3 separate regions of the Homo sapiens genome follow, and regions 2 and 3 are each linked to region 1. The links are contacts of gene promoters, found by promoter capture Hi-C in human tissues and cell types (Jung and others, 2019). All regions are on one chromosome and are shown on one strand. The core of a region is centred on a gene start or on the middle of the fragment in contact, and the rest is flanking DNA. Distances in the headings are between cores, read along the strand shown.

Evidence for each region. Contacts are between HindIII fragments. The study calls those that stand out against the background at their distance.
Region 2: a fragment that was not itself captured here is called in contact with the fragment with the promoter of SLC22A24 in region 1 in 1 of the 25 tissues and cell types used here (IMR-90 fibroblasts).
Region 3: a fragment that was not itself captured here is called in contact with the fragment with the promoter of SLC22A24 in region 1 in 2 of the 25 tissues and cell types used here (H1 embryonic stem cells and adrenal gland).

The regions. Positions count from the first base shown.
Region 1 is chr11:63,142,113-63,145,568 of GRCh38, forward strand. SLC22A24 (solute carrier family 22 member 24) reads right to left here and starts at 2,109. Exons shown (of 10, transcript NM_001136506.2): 1 at 1,266-2,109. The coding sequence starts at 1,667. The HindIII fragment of the contact is 8,571 bases long and covers 1-3,456 here.
Region 2 is chr11:63,178,115-63,181,262 of GRCh38, forward strand. It overlaps SLC22A25 (solute carrier family 22 member 25), which reads right to left. Exons shown (of 12, transcript NM_199352.6): 9 at 2,546-2,661. Among named protein-coding and RNA genes, the nearest start is that of SLC22A24, 35 kb to the left of the region's middle. The HindIII fragment of the contact is 4,974 bases long and covers 1-3,148 here.
Region 3 is chr11:63,200,857-63,204,121 of GRCh38, forward strand. All of the region lies in intron 7 of SLC22A25 (solute carrier family 22 member 25), which reads right to left. Among named protein-coding and RNA genes, the nearest start is that of SLC22A25, 41 kb to the right of the region's middle. RefSeq lists a silencer at 1,637-1,816. The HindIII fragment of the contact is 4,564 bases long and covers 1-3,265 here.

The DNA.
Region 1 (3,456 bases), core at 859-3,358:
ACTAAAACTATAGATGAGAGTACTAATATTTTTGCCACACAAGCCTTGGAAGCCCATCCAGGCCTGCATGAATACACTCAGTAGCAAAGCAGTTCCACTCTTCTCACCTTGGGGTTCACTCCCATTCCCATTATGTCCCCTGTCAGCAGGAAGAAGCTGGAGTGATAGATGGCCTTTTCCCGTCTTCATAGCCTACATCTTAAGATTAAGGTGTTATAAAACCCAAAGGGAGGGATTGAAACTGCCTTTGCAAAATTATGACTGAGACCGTGAAAGAGATCTAACTTAACCGACTCCATCTTGCTTCTGACCTCCAAGCTGTCCTTGTGCATTCCTGGGCATAGGCTGAACTAACTTTGGGAGAAACTTAGTTTGTAGTTTATAGTTTGAACAAAGACAGCCTTTCCCAAAGCAGACCTCCTTCTTGCCTGGGGACTAGATTAACGTTAGCCACAGGATTAGAAATTATCATTTAGTAGTCACACAGCTGGAGGCTACAAGATTCTGACCCTCCCTAAACTGCTCCTAAGATCAGTGCTTGAGATATTTTGCAGATCCCGCACTTGATGGATCAGCTGTCACCACCCAGATCGATAAACTGGCTCATCTGATCTTGTGACCCCCACTTAGGAAGTGACTCAGCACAAGAAGGCAGCTTTGACTCCCTATGATTTCAGCCCTGATCAGTCAGCACTCTTGGCTCACTGGCTGCCCCCCAACCACCAAGTTATCCTTAAAAACTCTGCTCCCCGAATGCTCAGGGAGACTAATTTGAGTAGTAATAAAACTCTGGCCTCCCTCAAAAAACAAAAAGCAAAAAACAAAAACAACCAAAACTAAGTATCTCAACAACATTTTGTAGGAGAAACACTTTCACAACCAGCAGAATGCAGAAAAATTTGTCAAATCCCAAAGCGTGGATATTTATGTTACAGAATTAACAAACTTATTTCTCATTGCCAAAAATGTGTTGATTGTAATGGTTCCTATTTTGATTAATAAAGATGTGTTTGAGCCTAGTTATAATGATTTAAAATTCATGGTCTAATACCACAATTTACTTTTACACCAATATAATACTAATACACTTGGCTGTATCGTAGAGTATTAATAGATAATCAGGTGCTGCCACCTGCTAAAGGAATGAAGAATGAGCTGACTGCAGGTCCCATCTAAGGACTAAAGGTATAAAGCAAGTCAATTTTTTTGTGTTAACTCCAAACACTTTAATCATATAAACAGAAGATTTACATGGGGCCTCTTACCTCAGTCACGATGGTGGAGAGGAAAGAGCTTCTGTCGTACACCCAGCCATCCACACAGGGCTCCGTGTCTGGCTCATTTGTGTTGGGGAAGGTCCCGTTCAGGTGAAGGAGCTGCCACTGGGGATGGATAAAGCGCTGACACTTCTGTGGCCTCAGGTTTGAGTCCAGTGGGATGGAGATTCTCAGGAGGTCATCCTTGCTGAGGGTCCCGGTATCATTGTCAGACACAGTGTCATTGTCCAGGAGGGGGACCCAGCAGCGATGACTAGGGGTGAATGCAGTGAAGTTCTCCAACACAATATTAGGGAACAGTAGGATGTTGGTGATGCAAAAGAAAGCTATCAGACAAATCTGGAATCTCCCCATGCCACCCACTTGATCCAGGAGCACATCAAAGCCCATTGAGACTGAACAGGTGATCCCCAAGAGGAAGCACAATGACTTTATGAAGAGAAGTTCAGAGGGAGAAAATGTCCCCTTTCACAAAGTTACCATAGTGCCATGTGGATCCTGACACTGCTTTCTTCTTGGTGGGCCCTGCACTGAGTGGTGTGACACTACTGCAGAAGAGCAGTGGAAGGACTTTCCCCAAGTCCTTTAACTTTAGGCAGCCAAATAGTTTCAGAAGTCACAGATATAATTATTTGGCAAAGAGACTGCTAGCTGTTGACAACTGAATCTTCTTAAAAGACTACTCTGTGAAAGATCCTGATCTCTGAGTTTCCTGATAAGTCAACGGTGGATTTTCAGGTGGATGCAGTCCCCACGTGACCTAAAATACACCTGTTCAATAGTCTGCCATTCTTCTTAGAAATGGGATATTAGAAAATCCAAAGTGAATTGCTTTATGATGTTCTTGTACAAAGATCAGAGAGCAGGGCTTTTTTTGGACTAGGACTGAGTTTTACTAAAAGTTAATAAAAACTATTCTTAGTTAAAGGAAAGTGGAATGTTGAGTTTAAACATTGACTTTTGCTAAGTGTAGTTCTGCTTCAGTTCAAGTCATACCAATGACAGGGCTTTAAAGATTTTTTAAAATAGGGAAATTAGGATAAGAAACAAAGAGAAAGGAAATAGTGCTTTTATGTATTATAGTAGTATATTTCACCAGATTTATTGATTCATTCAAATATCATTTTGGGCTTTCTGGTGCTATTGCTGTAAATAAAGCAATGTTAACTTACATATATTTATTTATAAGTTTAAAATAAAATTTGAGCTCAATGTCTCATATAAATGATAGGTTTGTAAATAATTGTACTGTAATGTCATCATATAACTATAAGGAAGATACACAGTGTGCTATGGAAGATTAAGGAGAAACTGTTTAATGATACCTGGATAGATGCCATGGAGCAGGGGAGTCATCCCTCTACAAATTAACTTTACCTACTCTTTTTTTTTTTGAGACAAAGTATCACTCTGTCACCAGGCTGGAGTGCAGCGGTGGGATCTTGGCTCTCTGCAGCCTTGACCTCCTGGGTTCAATCAATTCTCATGTCTCAGCCTCCCAAGTAGCTGGGATTACAGGCATTCACCCACATGCCCAGCTAATTTTTGTATTTTTTATGGAGAAGGGGTTTCATCATATTGGCCAGGCTGGCCTCAAACTCCTGACCTCATGTGATCTGCCCACCTCAGCCTCTGAAAGTGCTGGGATTACAGGCATGAGCCACCATGCCCAGCCAGCTTGACCTACTCTTGTGGGAAGATTCTTGAGATAATGAAGCAGTGGATGAGGGACTGCAAGAGTCAATTTTTAAATGAGGGAATAATAAGTACACAATTACAGTTAAAGGTGTGGCATAATTGTGTACCTACAAGGATATTCAAAAGCTAGCAGCTAAATAGCATGCACGGATATAATGGGAAAAGACAGGTTGATTAAAAAGAAACCCAAAGAAACAAACAGAATCTCCAGAATTTATTCTGCCTACAAGAAGTTCTTATTTTTGAATTTCAAACTGGTCACCCGTGAAACATCTTAAGATGCAGATTCCTGGATGGGTGCAGTGGCTCACACCCATAATCCCAGCTACTCAGGAGGCTGAGGCAGGAGAGCCACTTGAACCTGGGAGTGAAGGTTGCAGTGAGCTGAGATTGTGCCACTGCACTCCAGCCTGGGTGACACAGCAAGACTCTGTCTCAAAAAAAAAAAAAAAAAAAAAAAAAAAAAAAAAAAAAAGCAGAT
Region 2 (3,148 bases), core at 617-3,116, 36 kb after region 1:
TTCTGGACTCAAGCAATCCATCCACCTTGGCCTCCCAAAATTCTGGGATTACAGGTGTGGGCCACCACGCCCTGCCAATATACCCCATTTTCTTTATACAGCCATTGATAAACATTTAGGTTGATACCATATCTTGGCTTTTGGGAATACTGCTGCAAAAAACATAGAAGTGCAGATATCTCTTCAATATGCTGATTTTCTACCTTTGCATATATATCCAAAAGTGAGACTGCTGGATAATATGGTATTTCCATTTTTAATCTTTTCACAAAATTTTATATTGTTTTGCATAGTGGCTGTACTGATTTATATTCCCACCAACAGTGTGCAAACATCCCCCTCTATATGCATCTTCCCCAGCATTTTTTTTTTTGTCTTTTTGATAATATTTTAACTGGGGTGAAATAATATCTTATTGTGGTTTTAATTTACATTTTTTCTGGTGATTAACTGTATTGAGCATTTTTTATACTTGTTGGTCATTTGTATATCTTATTTTAAGAAATGTCTATTCAGGTATCTTGCCCATTTAAAAATAAGCTTATTTGTTTTTTTGCTACTGAGTTGTTTATGTTCCTTATAGGTTTGATTTATTAATCCCTTGTCGGTTGAATAGTTTGCAATTTTTTTTCTATTCTGTAGGTTGTTTCTCCACTTTGTTGATTGTTTTCCTTTGTTGTGCAGAAGATTTTTAGCTTGATGTAATTCCATTTGTCATTTTTTTTGCTTTGTTTGCCTGTGCTTTTGACTTTTTACTCAAGAAAACTTTGCTAATAGCAATGTCCTAAAGGATTTCCTCAATGCTTTCTTCTAGTATTATCATAGTTTTAGGTCTTACATTTAAGTCTGTAATTTTTTTTTTTTTGAAATGGGGTTTTGCTCTGTCACCCAGGCTGGAGTGCAGTGGTGCAATCTTGGCTCACTGCAACCTCCACTTCGTGGGTTGAAGCAATTCTGGTGCTTCAGCCTCCTGAGTAGCTGGGATTACAGGGCCATGATGCCCGGCTAATTTTTGTAATTTTAGTAGAGATGGGTTTCACCATGTTTGGCCAGGCTGGTCTTGAACTCCTGACCTCAGGTGATCCGCCTGCCTCAGGCTCTCAAAATGCTGGAATTACAGGCATGAGCCACTGTGCCTGGTCTATATCTCTCCATTTCTTTATGATCAGTTTCTTAAGATTTATTTTGTTCCCTTTTGTGTCATATTTCTCTGTTTCTTCGTGTTCTTTGTAGCTTTGCATTGGTATCTATACATTTGAAGAAATAGCCACCTCTTCCTGTCTTCCCAGACTGGCTTTTACAATCAGCCCAGATAGAGATTCTGGGGACCTTCAATTCTACTCTGTGAAAGTATCTTCTCTGTATTTGTGCATGTAGATTCCTAATTAGAGGGATTTCCTGGTTTCTGTTTTTCAGGAACTGGCAATCTCTTGCTTTCTGTGGTATCTGTCTGCCATACCATGAGTCCTCTGATGTAGCAGCTTAACACCCAGCTGTCTTTGTTCTCAGTAGTTCTGAGGCATCTAGAGTGCGTGTGGGGTCCTACTGGCATAATGGTTGGGCTAGAAAAAAACTAATTTCTTGGGCAGCTCCCTGGAAAATCAGTATATCAGACACATACTGAGCTCCTTTCCCTCCTGAGGGAGAAATCTCAAGTTGTGCATATTCTTTTCATTGCACTGAGCTGTGTGAGTCACAGCTTTCTTTTGTACTCACTTTGTCCTCAGTGACCTTAGGCATCCAAATATGCCAGTTCCATCAGTGCTCTGAGTGAGGGGAGACAGAGACCAGTTCCTCACACAGTGTGTCCAAAGGCCAAGGTGTGGCTGAATGCTCTACTCTTTCCTTCCCTGTGAGGGAAAAGTCATAGGCCAGGGTGTCCTCTCTTGGCATGAGCTGTAACAACTTTGGGAAGGGGTTGTCATGTATAAACTGACATTACTCTTCTTGCCCATTTCAGTGCAACTGTTTTTGGTTTCGTGCTCATCTGGGGCATTACAATGTCTTGTCTCAGTTTTGAAATTCTCATAGAAGTATTTTTGTCCAGTCATTATTTAATCAGTGTTTCTGTGTGCGGTTGAGGGGTAGGATTTTCTGTTACGTCATCTTGCTGAACTTGTGATCATTTCCCAGTGTTTTAGAATTTTTTCTATACCTTGATCTGAGTGGTAGCTAGATATTAATAACTGGTAATATTCATTGATCTGTGTACATTCATATGATTTGCTGTTTATAAATTAGCTCAATTAAAATGGAAACAAATGAAGAAACTTTGAGTCTAAACCTATACTATAATTGAAGTTCTTAGCATAAGTCTCCACTGATGAGCCTGGTAGAATGATGTTATAAACAGAAATTGTGTAATTAATTCTGTGTCAGCCTTTTCATAACCCTTTTACCACTTTTAAAAATAGCAATTCTCTTTATGGATTTATCATCTTTTATCCCCCAAATATTTTCCTTCAACATGTTGTATCATTTGAAATAAGAAATGGATTTATGTCTCCTCTATTTTAACATTCCTCACACACTGCATGAAACTTACCTCACAAAGGACAGGAAACAGATTCTTTTACATATGTTGGGTATGCGGAGCAATTCACAAAGAGAATGCTTTTTCTGTGCTGCCTCCAGTTCTTGCTTCATGGTGGATTTCAAAACCTTCAACAACAACAGAAGCAATAAACTGTTCAGTTGTCACAAAATGGTAGGCATTGTAAGAGGACTTGTCAACCAACAGATGACAAGATAGATGACATCCCTTTCTGTCTAGCAGAAAATACATGGCTTAAAAATGCAATGGCAAATATAAAAGTGGTATGGAAGTTAGAATAGAGAGTTAAAGAAGCCTCAGAGAAATTATTTATCAAGGCTATTTTAGACAAGAGATTTAATTGGCTGCAGAGCATTGAAAAGAATATGTAGGTTAGAGATTCAGATCAGGATGGGGAAAAAAATGAAGAGTTACTTGGATTAAACTCCAAAGCTCCATTTATACCAGATGGGCCCCAAAGACCTGGTTCTCAGCTGAACTGCCTTTGGTGAAAAACAGTTTGCCTGCCTCAGGAAAGAGATAAATTTCCTGAGAGAGTTTATTTTGGTTCTTGTTTCAGAAATGCTGGAGGTTTGGGAGTGGGGTACTTTCTTC
Region 3 (3,265 bases), core at 612-3,111, 58 kb after region 1:
CCAACAACAGCCAAGCCAAGAGCCAAATAATGAATGAACACCCATTCACAATTGCCACAAAAAGAATAAAATGCCTAGGAATACAGCTAACTAAGGAGGTGAAAGATCTCTACAAGGAGAACTACAAACCACTGCTCAAAGAAATCAGAGATGATACAAACAGAAAAAATTGCATGCTCATGGATAGGAAGAACCAATATTGTTAAAGTGGCCATACTGCCCAAAGCAATTTATAGATTCAATGCTATTCCTATTCAGCTACCACTGAGATTCTTCACAGAGCTAGGAAAAACTATTTTAAAATACATATGAAACCAAAAAGGAGCCTGAACAGCCAAGACAATCCTAAGCAAAAGAAATGAAGCTGGAGGCATCCATCATGCTACCCAACTTCAAACTTTACTACAGGGCTTCAGTGACCAAAACAGCATGGTACTGGAACAAAAACAAACACATAGACCAATGGAACAGAACAGAGAACACAGAAATAAGACCAAACACCTACAACTCTCTGATCTTCAACAAAACTGACAAAAACAAGCAATGGGGGAAATAATTCCCTATTCAATAAATGGTGCTATGATAACTGGCTAGACATATTCAGAAGACTAAAACTGAACTCCTTACTTACACCATGTACAAAAATTAACTCAATATAAATTGAAAACTTAAACGTAAAATCCCAAACTATAAAAACCCTGGAAGACAACCTAGGCAATACCATTCAGGACATAGGCACAGGAAAAGATTTCATGATAAAAACACCCAAAGCAATTGCAACCAAAGCAAAAATTGACAAATGGCATCTAACTAAACTAAAGAGCTTTTGCACAGTAAAAGAAACTATCAACAGAGTAAACAGACAACCTACAGAATGGGAGAAAATTTTTGCAAACTATGCATCCAATAAAGGTCTGATATTCAGAATCTATAAGGAAGTTAGACAAAATTTCAATAAAAAAACCCCATTAAAAGTGGGCAAAGAGGGGTGGCTGGCAAGATGGCTGAAGAGGAACAGCTCTGGTCTGCAGCCCCCAGCGAGATCAATGCAGAAGGTGGGTGATTTCTGCATTTCCAACTGAGGTACCTGGCTCATCTTATTGGGACTGGTTAGACAGTGGGTGCAGCTCACAGAGGGTGAGCAGAAGCAGGTTGGGACATCACCTTGCCTGGGAAGTGCAAGGGGTTGGGTAACTCACTCCCCTAGCCAAGGGAAGCCATGAGGGACTGTGCTGTGAGGGACGGTGCATCTGGGCCCAGATACTATGCTTTTCACATGGTCTTCACAGCCCGCAGACCAGGAGATTCCCTTGGGTGCTTATACCACCAGGGACCTGGGTTTCAAGCACAAAACTGGGTAGTCATTTGGGCAGACACTGAGCTAGCTGCAGGAGTTTTTTTTTTTTTAATACCCCAGTGGTGCCTGGAATGCCAGTGAGACAGAACCATTCACTCCCCTGTAAAGGGGGCACTGAAGCCAGGGAGTTAAGTGGTCTAGCTCAGTAGATCCCACCCCCATGGAGCCAAGCAAGCTAAGATCCACTGGCTTGAAATTCTCACTGCCAGCACAGCAGGCTGAAGTCGACTTGGGACACTAGAGCTTGGTGAGGGGAAGGGTGTCCAACATTACTGAGGCTTGAGTAGGCGGTTTTCCCCTCACAGTGTAAACAAAGACACAAGGAAATTTGAATTGGGCGGAGCCCACCACGGCTCAGTGCCTAAGCTGCTGTAGCCAGACTGCTTCTCTAGATTCCTTCTCTCTGGGCAGGGCATCTCTAAAAGAAAGGAAGCAGCCCCAGTCACGGGCTTATAGATAAAATTCACATATCCCTGGGACAGGGCACGTGGGGGAAGGGGCGGCTGTGGGCGCAGCTTCAGCAGACTTAAACGTTCCTGCTTGCTGGCTCTGAAGAGAGCAGTGGATCTCCGAGCACAGTGCTTGAGCTCTGCTAAGGGACAGACTGACTCCTCAAGTGGGTCCCTGACCCCGGTGCCTTCTGACAGGGAGACACTTCCCAGCAGGGGTTGACAGACACCTCATACAGGAGAGCTCCAGCTGGCATCTGGCAGGTGCCCCTCTGGGATGAAACTTCCAGAGGAAGGAGCAGGCAGCAATCTTTGCTGTTCTGCAGCCTCTGCTGGTGATACCCAGGGAAACAGGGTCTGGAGTGGACCTCCAGCAAATGCCATCAGACCTGCGGCAGAGGGGCCTGATTATTAGAAGTCAAACTAACAAACAGAAAGGAATAGCATCAACATCAACAAAAAGTACAATCACACAAAAACCCCATCTGAAGGTCACCGACATCAAAGACCAGAAGTAGATAAATCCACAAAGATGAAGAAAAACCAGTGCAAAAAGGCTGAAAATTCCAAAACCAAGAATGCCTCTTCTCCAAAGGATCACAACTCCTTGGCAGCAAGGGAACAAAACTGGACACAGAATGAGCTTGACAAATGGACAGAAGTAGGCTTCAGAAGGTGGGTAATAACAATCTCCTCTGAGCTAAAGGAGCATGTTCTAACCCAATGCAAGGAAGCCAAGAACCTTGAAAAAAGGATAGATGAATGGCTAACTAGAATAACCAGTTTAGAGAAGAACATAAATGACCTGATGGAGCTGCAAAACACAGCATGAGAACTTCATGAAGCATACACAAGTATCAATAGCAAAATTGATCAAGCAGAAGAAAGTATATCAGAGATTGAAGATCAACTTAATGAAATAAGGTGTGAAGACAAGATTAGAGAAAAAAGAATGAAAAGGAATGAACAAAGTCCCCAAGAAATATAGGACTATGTGAAAAGACCAAACCTATGATTGACTGGTGTACATGAAAGTGACGAGGAGAATGAAACCAAATTGGAAAATACTCTTCAGGCTATTATCCAGGAGAACTTCCCCAACCTAGCAAGACAGGCCAACATTCAAATTCAGGAAATACAGAGAACACCACAAAGATACTCCTCGAGAAGAGCAACCCCAAGACAGATAAGCATCAGATTCAGCAAGGTTGAAATGACAGAAAAAATGTTAGGGGTAGCCAGAGAGAAAGGTCAGGTTACCTACAAAGGGAAGCCCATCAGACTAACAGTGGATCACTCTGCAGAAACCCTACAAGCCAGAAGAGAGTGGGAGCCAATAATCAACACTCTTAAAGAAAAGAATTTTTAACCCAGAATTTCATATCCAGCCAAACTAAGCTTCATAATTGAAGGAGAAATAAAATCCTTTGCAGACAAGCAAATGCTAAGAGATTTTGCC